Linked DNA regions of Homo sapiens: regions 2 and 3 are each linked to region 1. The links are contacts of gene promoters, found by promoter capture Hi-C in blood cells and fetal thymus (Javierre and others, 2016). All regions are on one chromosome and are shown on one strand. The core of a region is centred on a gene start or on the middle of the fragment in contact, and the rest is flanking DNA. Distances in the headings are between cores, read along the strand shown. Region 1 holds the start of GDF9 (growth differentiation factor 9). Region 2 holds the start of RAD50 (RAD50 double strand break repair protein). Region 3 overlaps SLC22A5 (solute carrier family 22 member 5).

The links. The method cuts DNA at HindIII sites, captures the fragments that hold promoters and counts their contacts. A CHiCAGO score of 5 or more calls a contact.
Region 2: a contact is called between the fragment with the promoter of RAD50 here and the fragment with the promoter of GDF9 in region 1, in 2 of 17 cell types (fetal thymus and erythroblasts). The highest score is 6.2, in fetal thymus.
Region 3: a contact is called between a fragment that was not itself captured here and the fragment with the promoter of GDF9 in region 1, in 8 of 17 cell types (M0 macrophages, monocytes, M1 macrophages and 5 more). The highest score is 10.3, in M0 macrophages.

The regions. Positions count from the first base shown.
Region 1 is chr5:132,864,796-132,867,783 of GRCh38, reverse strand. It overlaps GDF9 (growth differentiation factor 9), which reads left to right and starts at 1,315. Exons shown (of 2, transcript NM_005260.7): 1 at 1,315-2,988. UQCRQ (ubiquinol-cytochrome c reductase complex III subunit VII) reads right to left here and starts at 1,142. Exons shown (of 3, transcript NM_014402.5): 1 at 1,097-1,142; 2 at 749-915; 3 at 1-296. The coding sequence starts at 902. The coding sequence ends at 202. RefSeq lists enhancers at 804-1,304, 1,305-1,805, 664-1,863. The HindIII fragment of the contact is 4,688 bases long and covers 1-2,988 here.
Region 2 is chr5:132,555,691-132,558,630 of GRCh38, reverse strand. It overlaps RAD50 (RAD50 double strand break repair protein), which reads right to left and starts at 1,654. Exons shown (of 25, transcript NM_005732.4): 1 at 1,178-1,654. The coding sequence starts at 1,306. It also overlaps a transcript of IL5 not described here. RefSeq lists an enhancer at 1,371-2,031. The HindIII fragment of the contact is 3,439 bases long and covers 1-1,896 here.
Region 3 is chr5:132,378,623-132,381,638 of GRCh38, reverse strand. The region is part of intron 2 of SLC22A5 (solute carrier family 22 member 5); the gene reads right to left. Among named protein-coding and RNA genes, the nearest start is that of MIR3936HG, 10 kb to the right of the region's middle. The HindIII fragment of the contact is 1,566 bases long and covers 984-2,549 here.

The DNA of each region.
Region 1 (2,988 bases), core at 66-2,565:
AAAACTTCAAGACTCATGCTGAGGAGGGGCGCTTCATGAACTTGAATATTAGTGGTCACACAGGATTCTACTCACAAAAATGTAATATCACAACAGTGCAGACCATAGGAAGTTTATTGTGTCTTTGAGACACTACAATGCAGACTCCTCTTCCAGAGAAAGGTCTTTCAGAGACAGGGAACCGTCATCCGGATGCGTTGCTCATTTGTCATTTTCATAGGCAGCTGGATTCTTCCTCTTGGATCTCTCGAACTCTTCAGTCCCCCATGTGTAGATAAGATAAAACACTACAAACTCTTTAAAAATTAAGAGAGTAAACAGAGAGCACACATATAAGACATATAGAAGAAAAAAAAAGGTCTCAGTCCTCTTGTCTTCTTTAAAGCATACACTTCAGTAGTTCTTAGCATATCCAAGGCCATGCAACTATCATCACTATCTGCTGCACGTTTAACACAAAGCATTTCACCACTGGTAAGAACTAAATAAAGGTGACCTCAGAGGAACATGCTGGAATCACCCGAGTGACCTTGGGCCAGTCATTTCAGTTCTGTAGCTCAGTTTTCCCCGTGTAAGATGGGGAGGATAATATGACCAGCTTAAGGGCGGTCAGGAATATTCAATGAGAAAGGTGTGTACGGCAAGTTACAGAGCGCCTGCCCGGCCGCCAGCGCTCAGAGGGGAGGCGCAGTGACTGCTGCTGCTGCTGGGGTCCAGCCTCCCGCTCCCGCGGGCCCAAGGCACTCACGCGGCACCACGCGAAAGAAAGACTCCCGAATGCGGCGCAGAACATTGGGGATTCCTTTAGTGAAGACGTGCGGATAGGCGCGCTGCTCGAACGGTGACAAGCTGTAGCTGATCACATGCCGCATCCGCGTCAGATTCCCAAACTCGCGGCCCATTGTGGCGGCGGCCCTGCAGGACCGAGGGTGGACAGGCGCTTGGCTCGCTTTCGCGAAGCGCCGCAGTCCCCGCGGGGGTCCATCCCCAACCCCAGACTCCTGCCCCTGCACTCCTTATCCTTTCCCAGCCCAGCGGGGCGCCCCTAGCCTCCCAGGGTCCACGAACACTGCACAACCAGACCCCACTCACGCACAGGGCTCAGCTCGCCCTCCACAGTCACCGATCCGGTTGACTCGTTCGTCATTTCCGGCAAGGTTGGAAGCCGCTCTTGGAGGTCGTGAGGTAACTTCCGGGAGATACCATTTTCCTACTGTCTCTAAGGGATGACGCCTTTGTCCCAGAAAGAAGTGGGCTGACTGGGTGACCCGTAGGTGGGAGGTGCCTTGGAGGCCCTGCCCGGGCCGGTGGGGTGGAGCCTAGCGGAGGACGTCGGGGATTGAACTGACTTTGGGGGACAGTGGACAGGCGGAGGCGCTCACACTTCTCCTCAGCCCTCGGCTTTTCTGTGGAATCCCAGTCAGGAAGCGGCCGAATGCGGGAGGCGGGGGAGGGAACAAAAAGGTGACGAGGAAGGGGCCTGCCGACCTCCGGGGCAGCGCTGGCCAGGAGCTTGGGGCCTGCGAGTCTTCCCAGCTGTAGACAGAGCGCCTCTGAGCCCCGAGGCCGGGCCGCCCCACAGCAGAGGAGCACGAGGTTTCATTTGGCCTTGGCCAGTAGCTCAAAGGGGGCTTCGTTATTTTCAGGCCATGAGCGACCCCAGCACCAAAATCAGGGACACACATCGAAGGCTTCTCTTGGACTCTGTTTTAGAGTCCCCTGGCAGGCTGTTAACGTTCCCAAGAGATAATACAAACGTTTCGTCAGTTTCAGCCACAAAAATAATCAAATAATCGTCAATTGATGAATGCTGAGGCCGCCTCGACAGCAGCCAGCGTCCTCCCCAGATGGTTTGCGTGGGGTGGGGGGAATCACGATGCCCCAGTTCTTTCTTCTCCCCACGTGAGAAGCAAGGAAAGTCGGGTGAGAGGCCTTATTATGTTTTCCCTGAAGTGCATTCTGCTTGACGATGCTGTTGTCAATGTACAGCTCGCCCTGAGGTGTCTTGTCAGTGTTTTGTTAATGGAATTGCTGGCCATATTTTATCTAGGACTAAGCTCTCATTCAACAGTTGGCTGTGTTTTATAACACTACTTACGGACCACGGAGGCTCGGCAGGCAGTCAACTTGTATTTTGCAGACATACCTTAGTTTTCTCATGTAGGTACTGCACAAACTGGCTTCGTATCTTGCACTATGAGTGTAGGCTGACTCTTCCAGCATAGTCTCCTTCGGGGTGGCGCTGAATATCCCCTCATTTCAGCTTTTCATGGTGCTCCTTTGCCTCATTTTTTTAAACCATAATGTCTAGCCTGGTCTCAGCTCCAAGGCAAGAACAGAAATACAGGTAAGGACAGAAATATTGTGGCAAATTCTACCACCATTTGGATGAATAATAATAAAACGTTCATTTATTTTATAGCATCTGCAAACATCCCAAAACCTTTCAACCAAAATATGTATAGATGAGTGTGCAGACCAAAGTAAGGACATCAGTATGTTACATTTAAAAATAAGTCAAGGTTAAAGGCGGTGTCCTCTTTTAAGAACATCGCAAATACAATTCCAGTACTCCAAGTACGTATTCTGTACCCAGCCACCTGGGAGGACTGAGAGACCTAATGGTTTTCTGCTTTCTGGAACTTCTATGCCAATTGTGACTTTCTCACCCAAATTTGTAAATTCGCAAATTAACATGCAGCGAATAATTACAATTGTAAACACCTGGAAGTGGAAAAGGCCGTGAGGATAAATTGAGAGGAAGAGTAAACCTAATACCATAAGTTGCATACCAGCAGATCTGAGTATCGTCATGAATAATTGGTTAGCTTTTCCACATGCCTTAGAAGTTTCAGCAAGCACCTAGCGAACATCTTAATCCAAATTTCTCAAAAAATGAGAGATTTTATTTAAGATCATTCCTCAATTTATCTTAGACTTTCAGCTACATAGTTAGTCCGGTAGTGTAACAGTAACGGGTTTTACGTA
Region 2 (2,940 bases), core at 405-2,904, 310 kb after region 1:
CAAGCGATTCTCCCGCCTCGGCCTCCCCAGTAGCTAGGATTACAGGCATGCGCCACCACGCCTGGCTAATTTTTGTATTTTTATTAGAGATGGGGTTTCGCCACGTTGGCCAGGCTGGTCTCGAACTCCTGACCTCAGGTGATCCACCCGCCTCGGCCTCCCAAAGTGCTGGGATTACAGGCGTGAGCCACCGTGCCCAGCTGTAGAAACTATTTTTAATCTCCATTTTATAAATGAGAAAACTAAGGCACAGAGCAGTGAGGTCACTCGCAAACAATCAGACAACTAATAAATGAAGCGAAAAAGCTGTATTGAGGCAGCCAGTCCTCATAAACACTATACAGTACTACTCTCCCTTCTGCTAGTATTTAGTACAATCCTAAGTACATAACAAGCATTCAACAAATAACATTTTTACAAAAACAAAAGTAAACAAGTTTGGCATTCAATTCTCAACCTTCTCTCTTTCTACACTCTTCACAAATCCTTCCTTTAGACTCTTCTCCCTGCTATACTGACATCGTCTTGCTTTTTCTTAAGCCACTATTCCTGACCAGAATGCCTCTTGGTTATTCTTTCCATTCAAATTTATAAATATTCCCACGGCTTTAAAAAAAAAAAAAAGTCAGTCGTGCACCAACGTTAAATTTTTGACTGAGTTTTAAGAAGAGAAGTTTTCCAAGTTAAGCCCCACTACATCAGTTACATTTTGAATTTATTTATTTTCCATGTATTATGTCTGGACAGTTGGCATACTTGGAAACTCTTTAGTCATGTATGTATCATTTTATAACTTTTAAAGGAATTCTTGTATGGGACAACTACTGGGAAGTGAATGCTATGCTTTGAAAGCAAGGAGACAGCGTTAAAAACATCAATACAGACCAAAGGGCATCCAGTGGGAACTGAACTCTGAGTGAGCGGCGACAGCTCCCGGTATCGTGGGATTCTTAAGTAAACCTTGTCCCCAGGCCAGGTCCGGACATCCTTCCGAGACTGCTTCAGGCAAACTCCTAAGGTCGCTGTAGCCTGCAGGCCACACCCTAAGGCACTTTAAGGGCCTACACCTGTGGAGCCCTAGGGACGCTTCTGCTCCTAAGGAGAGTTCTCAACTTCCCATTTTATTCTCCGAAAGATGTAGCGACCTGTAAACTGAAGGCGGCTACTGAAGACTTACCGTCTTTCCCGCCCCATTGGGTCCAACCAAAATTGTAAGGGGGCTGAAGAAAGTGATAATTTGCTTATCTTTGTCCTCTATTCCAAAACTCCGCACGCCCAGAATGCTCATCTTTTCGATCCGGGACATGTTTGCAAACGTTTCTAATCTCACCAGGGACCTGGAGCCCACAAAGGCTTAACTGAGGCCGAAGCAAGGCGTGCACGGGACGTGAGACCCGCGAATCTCAGGGTCAGGAGGATCCGGGCGGGGAGCGAGGCCACAGGACTGCCAAAAGATCCTGCCAGCCAACAGCGGGAGAGAGGGGGCGGGGGATGGAGCCTTTCCTCCCACACCAGCTGCTTTCCCCGCCGGTGGGGAGAGCGGAGGCGGGGACCAGCCTGGGGCTGCCCGCCGGGGACGCAAAGCCGTAGCCACAATGCGACCCCGCAACCGCGCACTCACAGCTTCCTGCCTCGGCCGCCCTGCGGATCACGTGGGCCTCTAGGCCCGCACGCGTCCACGCCGCTCTCCTGGGGCACGCCGGGAAATCAGAGTCCCGCGGTGCGTGCGCAGCTCCGACTTCCGGGTGCGGTACGGCGAAGCAGAGGGCTAGGTGCTGGGTGCTGTTGCCAGGGGCAGCGGACTTCCGGATCTTTGCTGGGGATGGGCAGCCTGGAGAGGCACTGACTTTTGGAAGGGGAGACCAAGACCTGTGACGGATGGCGCTTCCCAAAGCTTGATCCTGGGACTCCTGGAATGGGGGTAGTGGTGGGGTGGATTGGAGACCCAGGAAGCGGGGTCAGTTCGTGTCAAAACTATTTTCCTTTTCATTCTCATTCTCTCTCTAACGTTCGTGTAGTAATTTCCAGTGATCACATAACATGTGATGACGCCATTGCAGTGGCGGTTAATGGAATGTGCGCATGTGTATTCTTGCGCTTAGAAATACCAATTTTAATTTCTAATTGAGTAAATGTTGATAATTATAACTCACGTACACGCTCTTTGAGGTCCCCCGTAATTTTTTAGTGTAAAGGCGTCTTTAAGACCAAAAGTCTGGGAACTAAAACTAAAAGCAGTCTGCAAATATGAAGAATGTAGAGGTAATCCATTCCGATCAGTGCTCCCAGCAATAGATATCTTTAAAAATAAGGGAAAGAGAAGTTACCTGTCTCAGAAGTAACTGAGAATATTGCTTTCTTGGAAACAAACTTAATGGAGGGATATCACATTTAAGGGCCTAGAGAAACATACATAAAAATTACTGAAACAATAGTGGAGGACATTTAAATGAAACACAAATTTGGAATTACTGTAGTGGTATAATTTGCCTCTGCCTGCCTTGGAAAAATGTAGGAAATGTTTCTCCAGTCATACAATCCCAAGCAAATAATTTACAGAACCTAATACATAAATGTATGTGCCAAAGGATGCAAGTGGGGAAGACCAGTGAGAAATAGTCTCTTGCTGTACCAGGTTAAAAAAAACCGGAAAGTGTCAGTTATTACAAAATAGTTAAAATAACTAATGGAACAAAACATTAAAATTATATAGGAATGTCTTACTTGGCAAAGCAAATGTAATAAAACAATGGGAAAAGACGAAAGACCTTTTTTTATTTTAAAAATTGTAAAATACACATAAAATTTACTGTCTTGGCCAGGCGCGGTGGCTCACGCCTGTAATCCCAGCACTTTGGGAGGCCGAGACGGGTGGATCACGAGGTCAGGAAATGAAGACCATCCTGGCTAACACGGTGAAACCCCGTCTCTACTGAAAAC
Region 3 (3,016 bases), core at 517-3,016, 490 kb after region 1:
TCTTGAATTTCAGACATATTCATAGGCCAGAAAGAAGGTGAAACCTTTATACTATATAAAAAGTTACATTGATGTCCTAGACAAGTTAGGGCATGAATTGATTGCTTTCAGGTAATCTACTTAGCTTAGGTTTTAGAACTGGTTTACTCAGAAGTAATGCACTCAGAAGCTGTCCATCCCACAGGGCCCTGGGCCTTCCAAGGGGGCACAGACAGGCTTGAGGCAGGGCATTGGGAATTGAAGGCAGGGGCTGCAGGCAGAACAGCCATACTTTTAGCCACTTAGGGTGTATTTCATTTACTAGACTTAAATTATCCTACTTTAATGAAAGTTCTGTGGCCAAAATGTTTAGAAAGGTTTGAAAAACACTATATTAGCCCTTCTGTAGACTAAAGTGGTCCTAAACACACTCACAAATTTTGTTTCCAGTTTCCCTGGGAATAGACCTTTTGGAACTTAAATGCTTTCCTCAGGTAATCATTGTGTCACATGGCAAGAAGGTTCTTAAGCTGACCCATGACACAGCTGACCCAGAAAAATACACTGCATTTCTACTCTGAACTTGGGGTATCTCCTTTTCACATCAAGGGCATTCTTCTGAGCCGCAGCTGTCACTTAGCTCCGTGAGAAGGAATCTCCCATGTCCACTCAGGTGGCCTCTAAGCATAGCACAATCCTCCCCCAGTTCCCCCCTCCCCTCCCCACTCCCCTCTCCCCAGGCAACCTCATCCCTATCTGGGGCTCTGCTGAGGGTTCTATATGCTGACAAATCCTACATGTGTTTCTCTAGCCAAAACCTCTCATGCAGTACCATATCCATACAGCCAGCTTCACACTCTACTTCTCCACTTAGGGGTCTCATAGTCACCCCAAATTTAGTACACACAAATTGAACTCAATATCCATGAACGTGGTTCTTTTCCAGCATTCTCTGTCTTAGAGAAGTGTACCTTCATTCACCCAGTTACTCAGGCCAGAAAGCTTTCTTCCCCCAATTCCGACATCCAGCCCATCGGCAAGTCTTGTTGATTTTACCTCTTACCACTTCCCTCCATTTCTACCACCGTCATGCTAGGCCATGCCACCATCATCTCTGGCATGAACTACTGTGACAACCTTTTAATTGGTCTCTCTACAACACCTTTTGCTTCCCTTCAATTCTTTCTTCACAAGGTTGTCAAAGCATCTTTAAAAAAAAAAAAGGACAAATCTGATTGTCACACTATTGCTTTAAAAAATCTCAGTAGCCCACCGCTGCTCTGTGGCTGAAGCCCAAAGTCCTAACTGTGATCCACTAAGCCCTGGTTGCTCATCTGCCCAGGGCTCTGCCTGCCTCTCCCCTTCATCTTAACACCACTCTCCGCACCTCTACCACACGGACTTTGTCCTGCTCCCATGCCTTTTCATGAGCCCCGGCTTTAGCACTTGCTATTCTCCCTGCCTGGATGTTCTTTCTCCTCTCTACCCCTCAGCTGGCTACTTTCGACTCATCTTCCCACTCTCGCTCATGCTTCACCTTCTCAGGGATGCTGCCCCTGACCTCCTCTGTTAGACACTCCTGTGGCACCCTGCACTTCTCTGTATCTCTTACCATGGCCAAGGACAACAACGACTTCCTCACTTGGTTGTTTAATACATTCCACCTTGCTAGAAAGCAAGTTTTAGGACAGCAGGGACCTAGAACAGTAGTCCATACACAATAGAGGAGCAAGACTACCTGGGTCCAAATCCTAACTCTGCCACTTGCCAGCTGTGAAACCCTGGGCAAGTTATTTAATCCCTCTGTCTCACTTTCTCCATCTGTAAAGTAGGAATAATAAACAGGTTAACCTGCTTTTTAAAAAAAAATCTGGCTGGGCAGGTGCAGTGGCTCGCGCCTGTAATCCCAGCACTTTGGGAGGCCGAGGTGGGTGGATCACCTGAGGTCGGGAGTTTGAGACCAGCCTGACCAACATGGAGAAACCTTGTCTCTATTAAAAATACAAAATTAGCTGGGCATGGTGGTGCATGCCTGTAATCCCAGCAACTCGGGAGGCTGAGACAGGAGAATCTCTTGAACCTGCGAGGCAGAGGTTGCAGTGAGCCGAGATCGTGCCATTGCACTCCAGCCTGGGTAACAAGAGTGAAACTCCTTTTCCAAAAAAAAACAACAACAATAAAAAATATCTGGCTGCGCATGGTGTCTCACGCCTGTAATCCCAGCACTTTGGGAGGTTATGGAGGGAGGATTGCTTGAGGCCAGGAATTAAAAACCAGGGAAGATGCTGGGACTCCTTTCCACCGGCTAACCCACCGATTTGTGGGGTGTTCTCACATGTGTCATGTGGCCAAGGACTTGCTGAAGGCTGCTACTCTCTTCACAGTCTTCTCTGACAGACCCTGAAGCTCCAGGGAAAGAAGACACAACATAATGGACCCCTCTAAGAACTTCATGAAAGCTACGGACCTCTCTCCAAAAAAATGCTCACATGTAGTCTCTAACATTGTGCATATAATTTCGAGGGGTTTGGGATTCTCTAAGCCGTTAATGTTTCCTTGAGTTAAAAGCTTTAGAATTATACAAATAACCTGCTTATAAGAAATGGATCAAAACACTATTCTCCCTCCTGTCATAAAGTAAATGCCAAAACCACAGGCCACTTAGCTAAGGGGCATCAGCCTTGTGGACAAAAGAGTTCTGCTTTTCATACCACTAGTGGCTGGTGAGAGCTCCTTTCACTTTGCAGAGAGAATGCTGGTCTTCTTGGGACTACAGAGGCAGACACCGTGGCACTACTACAGATCTACAATCTAGCACATGTGCATGTGTGCATGATGTCAACCTCTCCCATGCTCAGGGGCATGACAGAGTCACAGTGACCCAGGGGAGGCAAGCCAGGCTACTGCAGAAGTGAATCATGGCATATTACCTAGTCAACCGGGTCACAGATACATTCAGCTTAGACAGCTCAGGTTTCTTTACTTAGCAAGAATTACGGAGTCAGATTTGTTGGCTCTTCTTACTAGGCATGGAGTC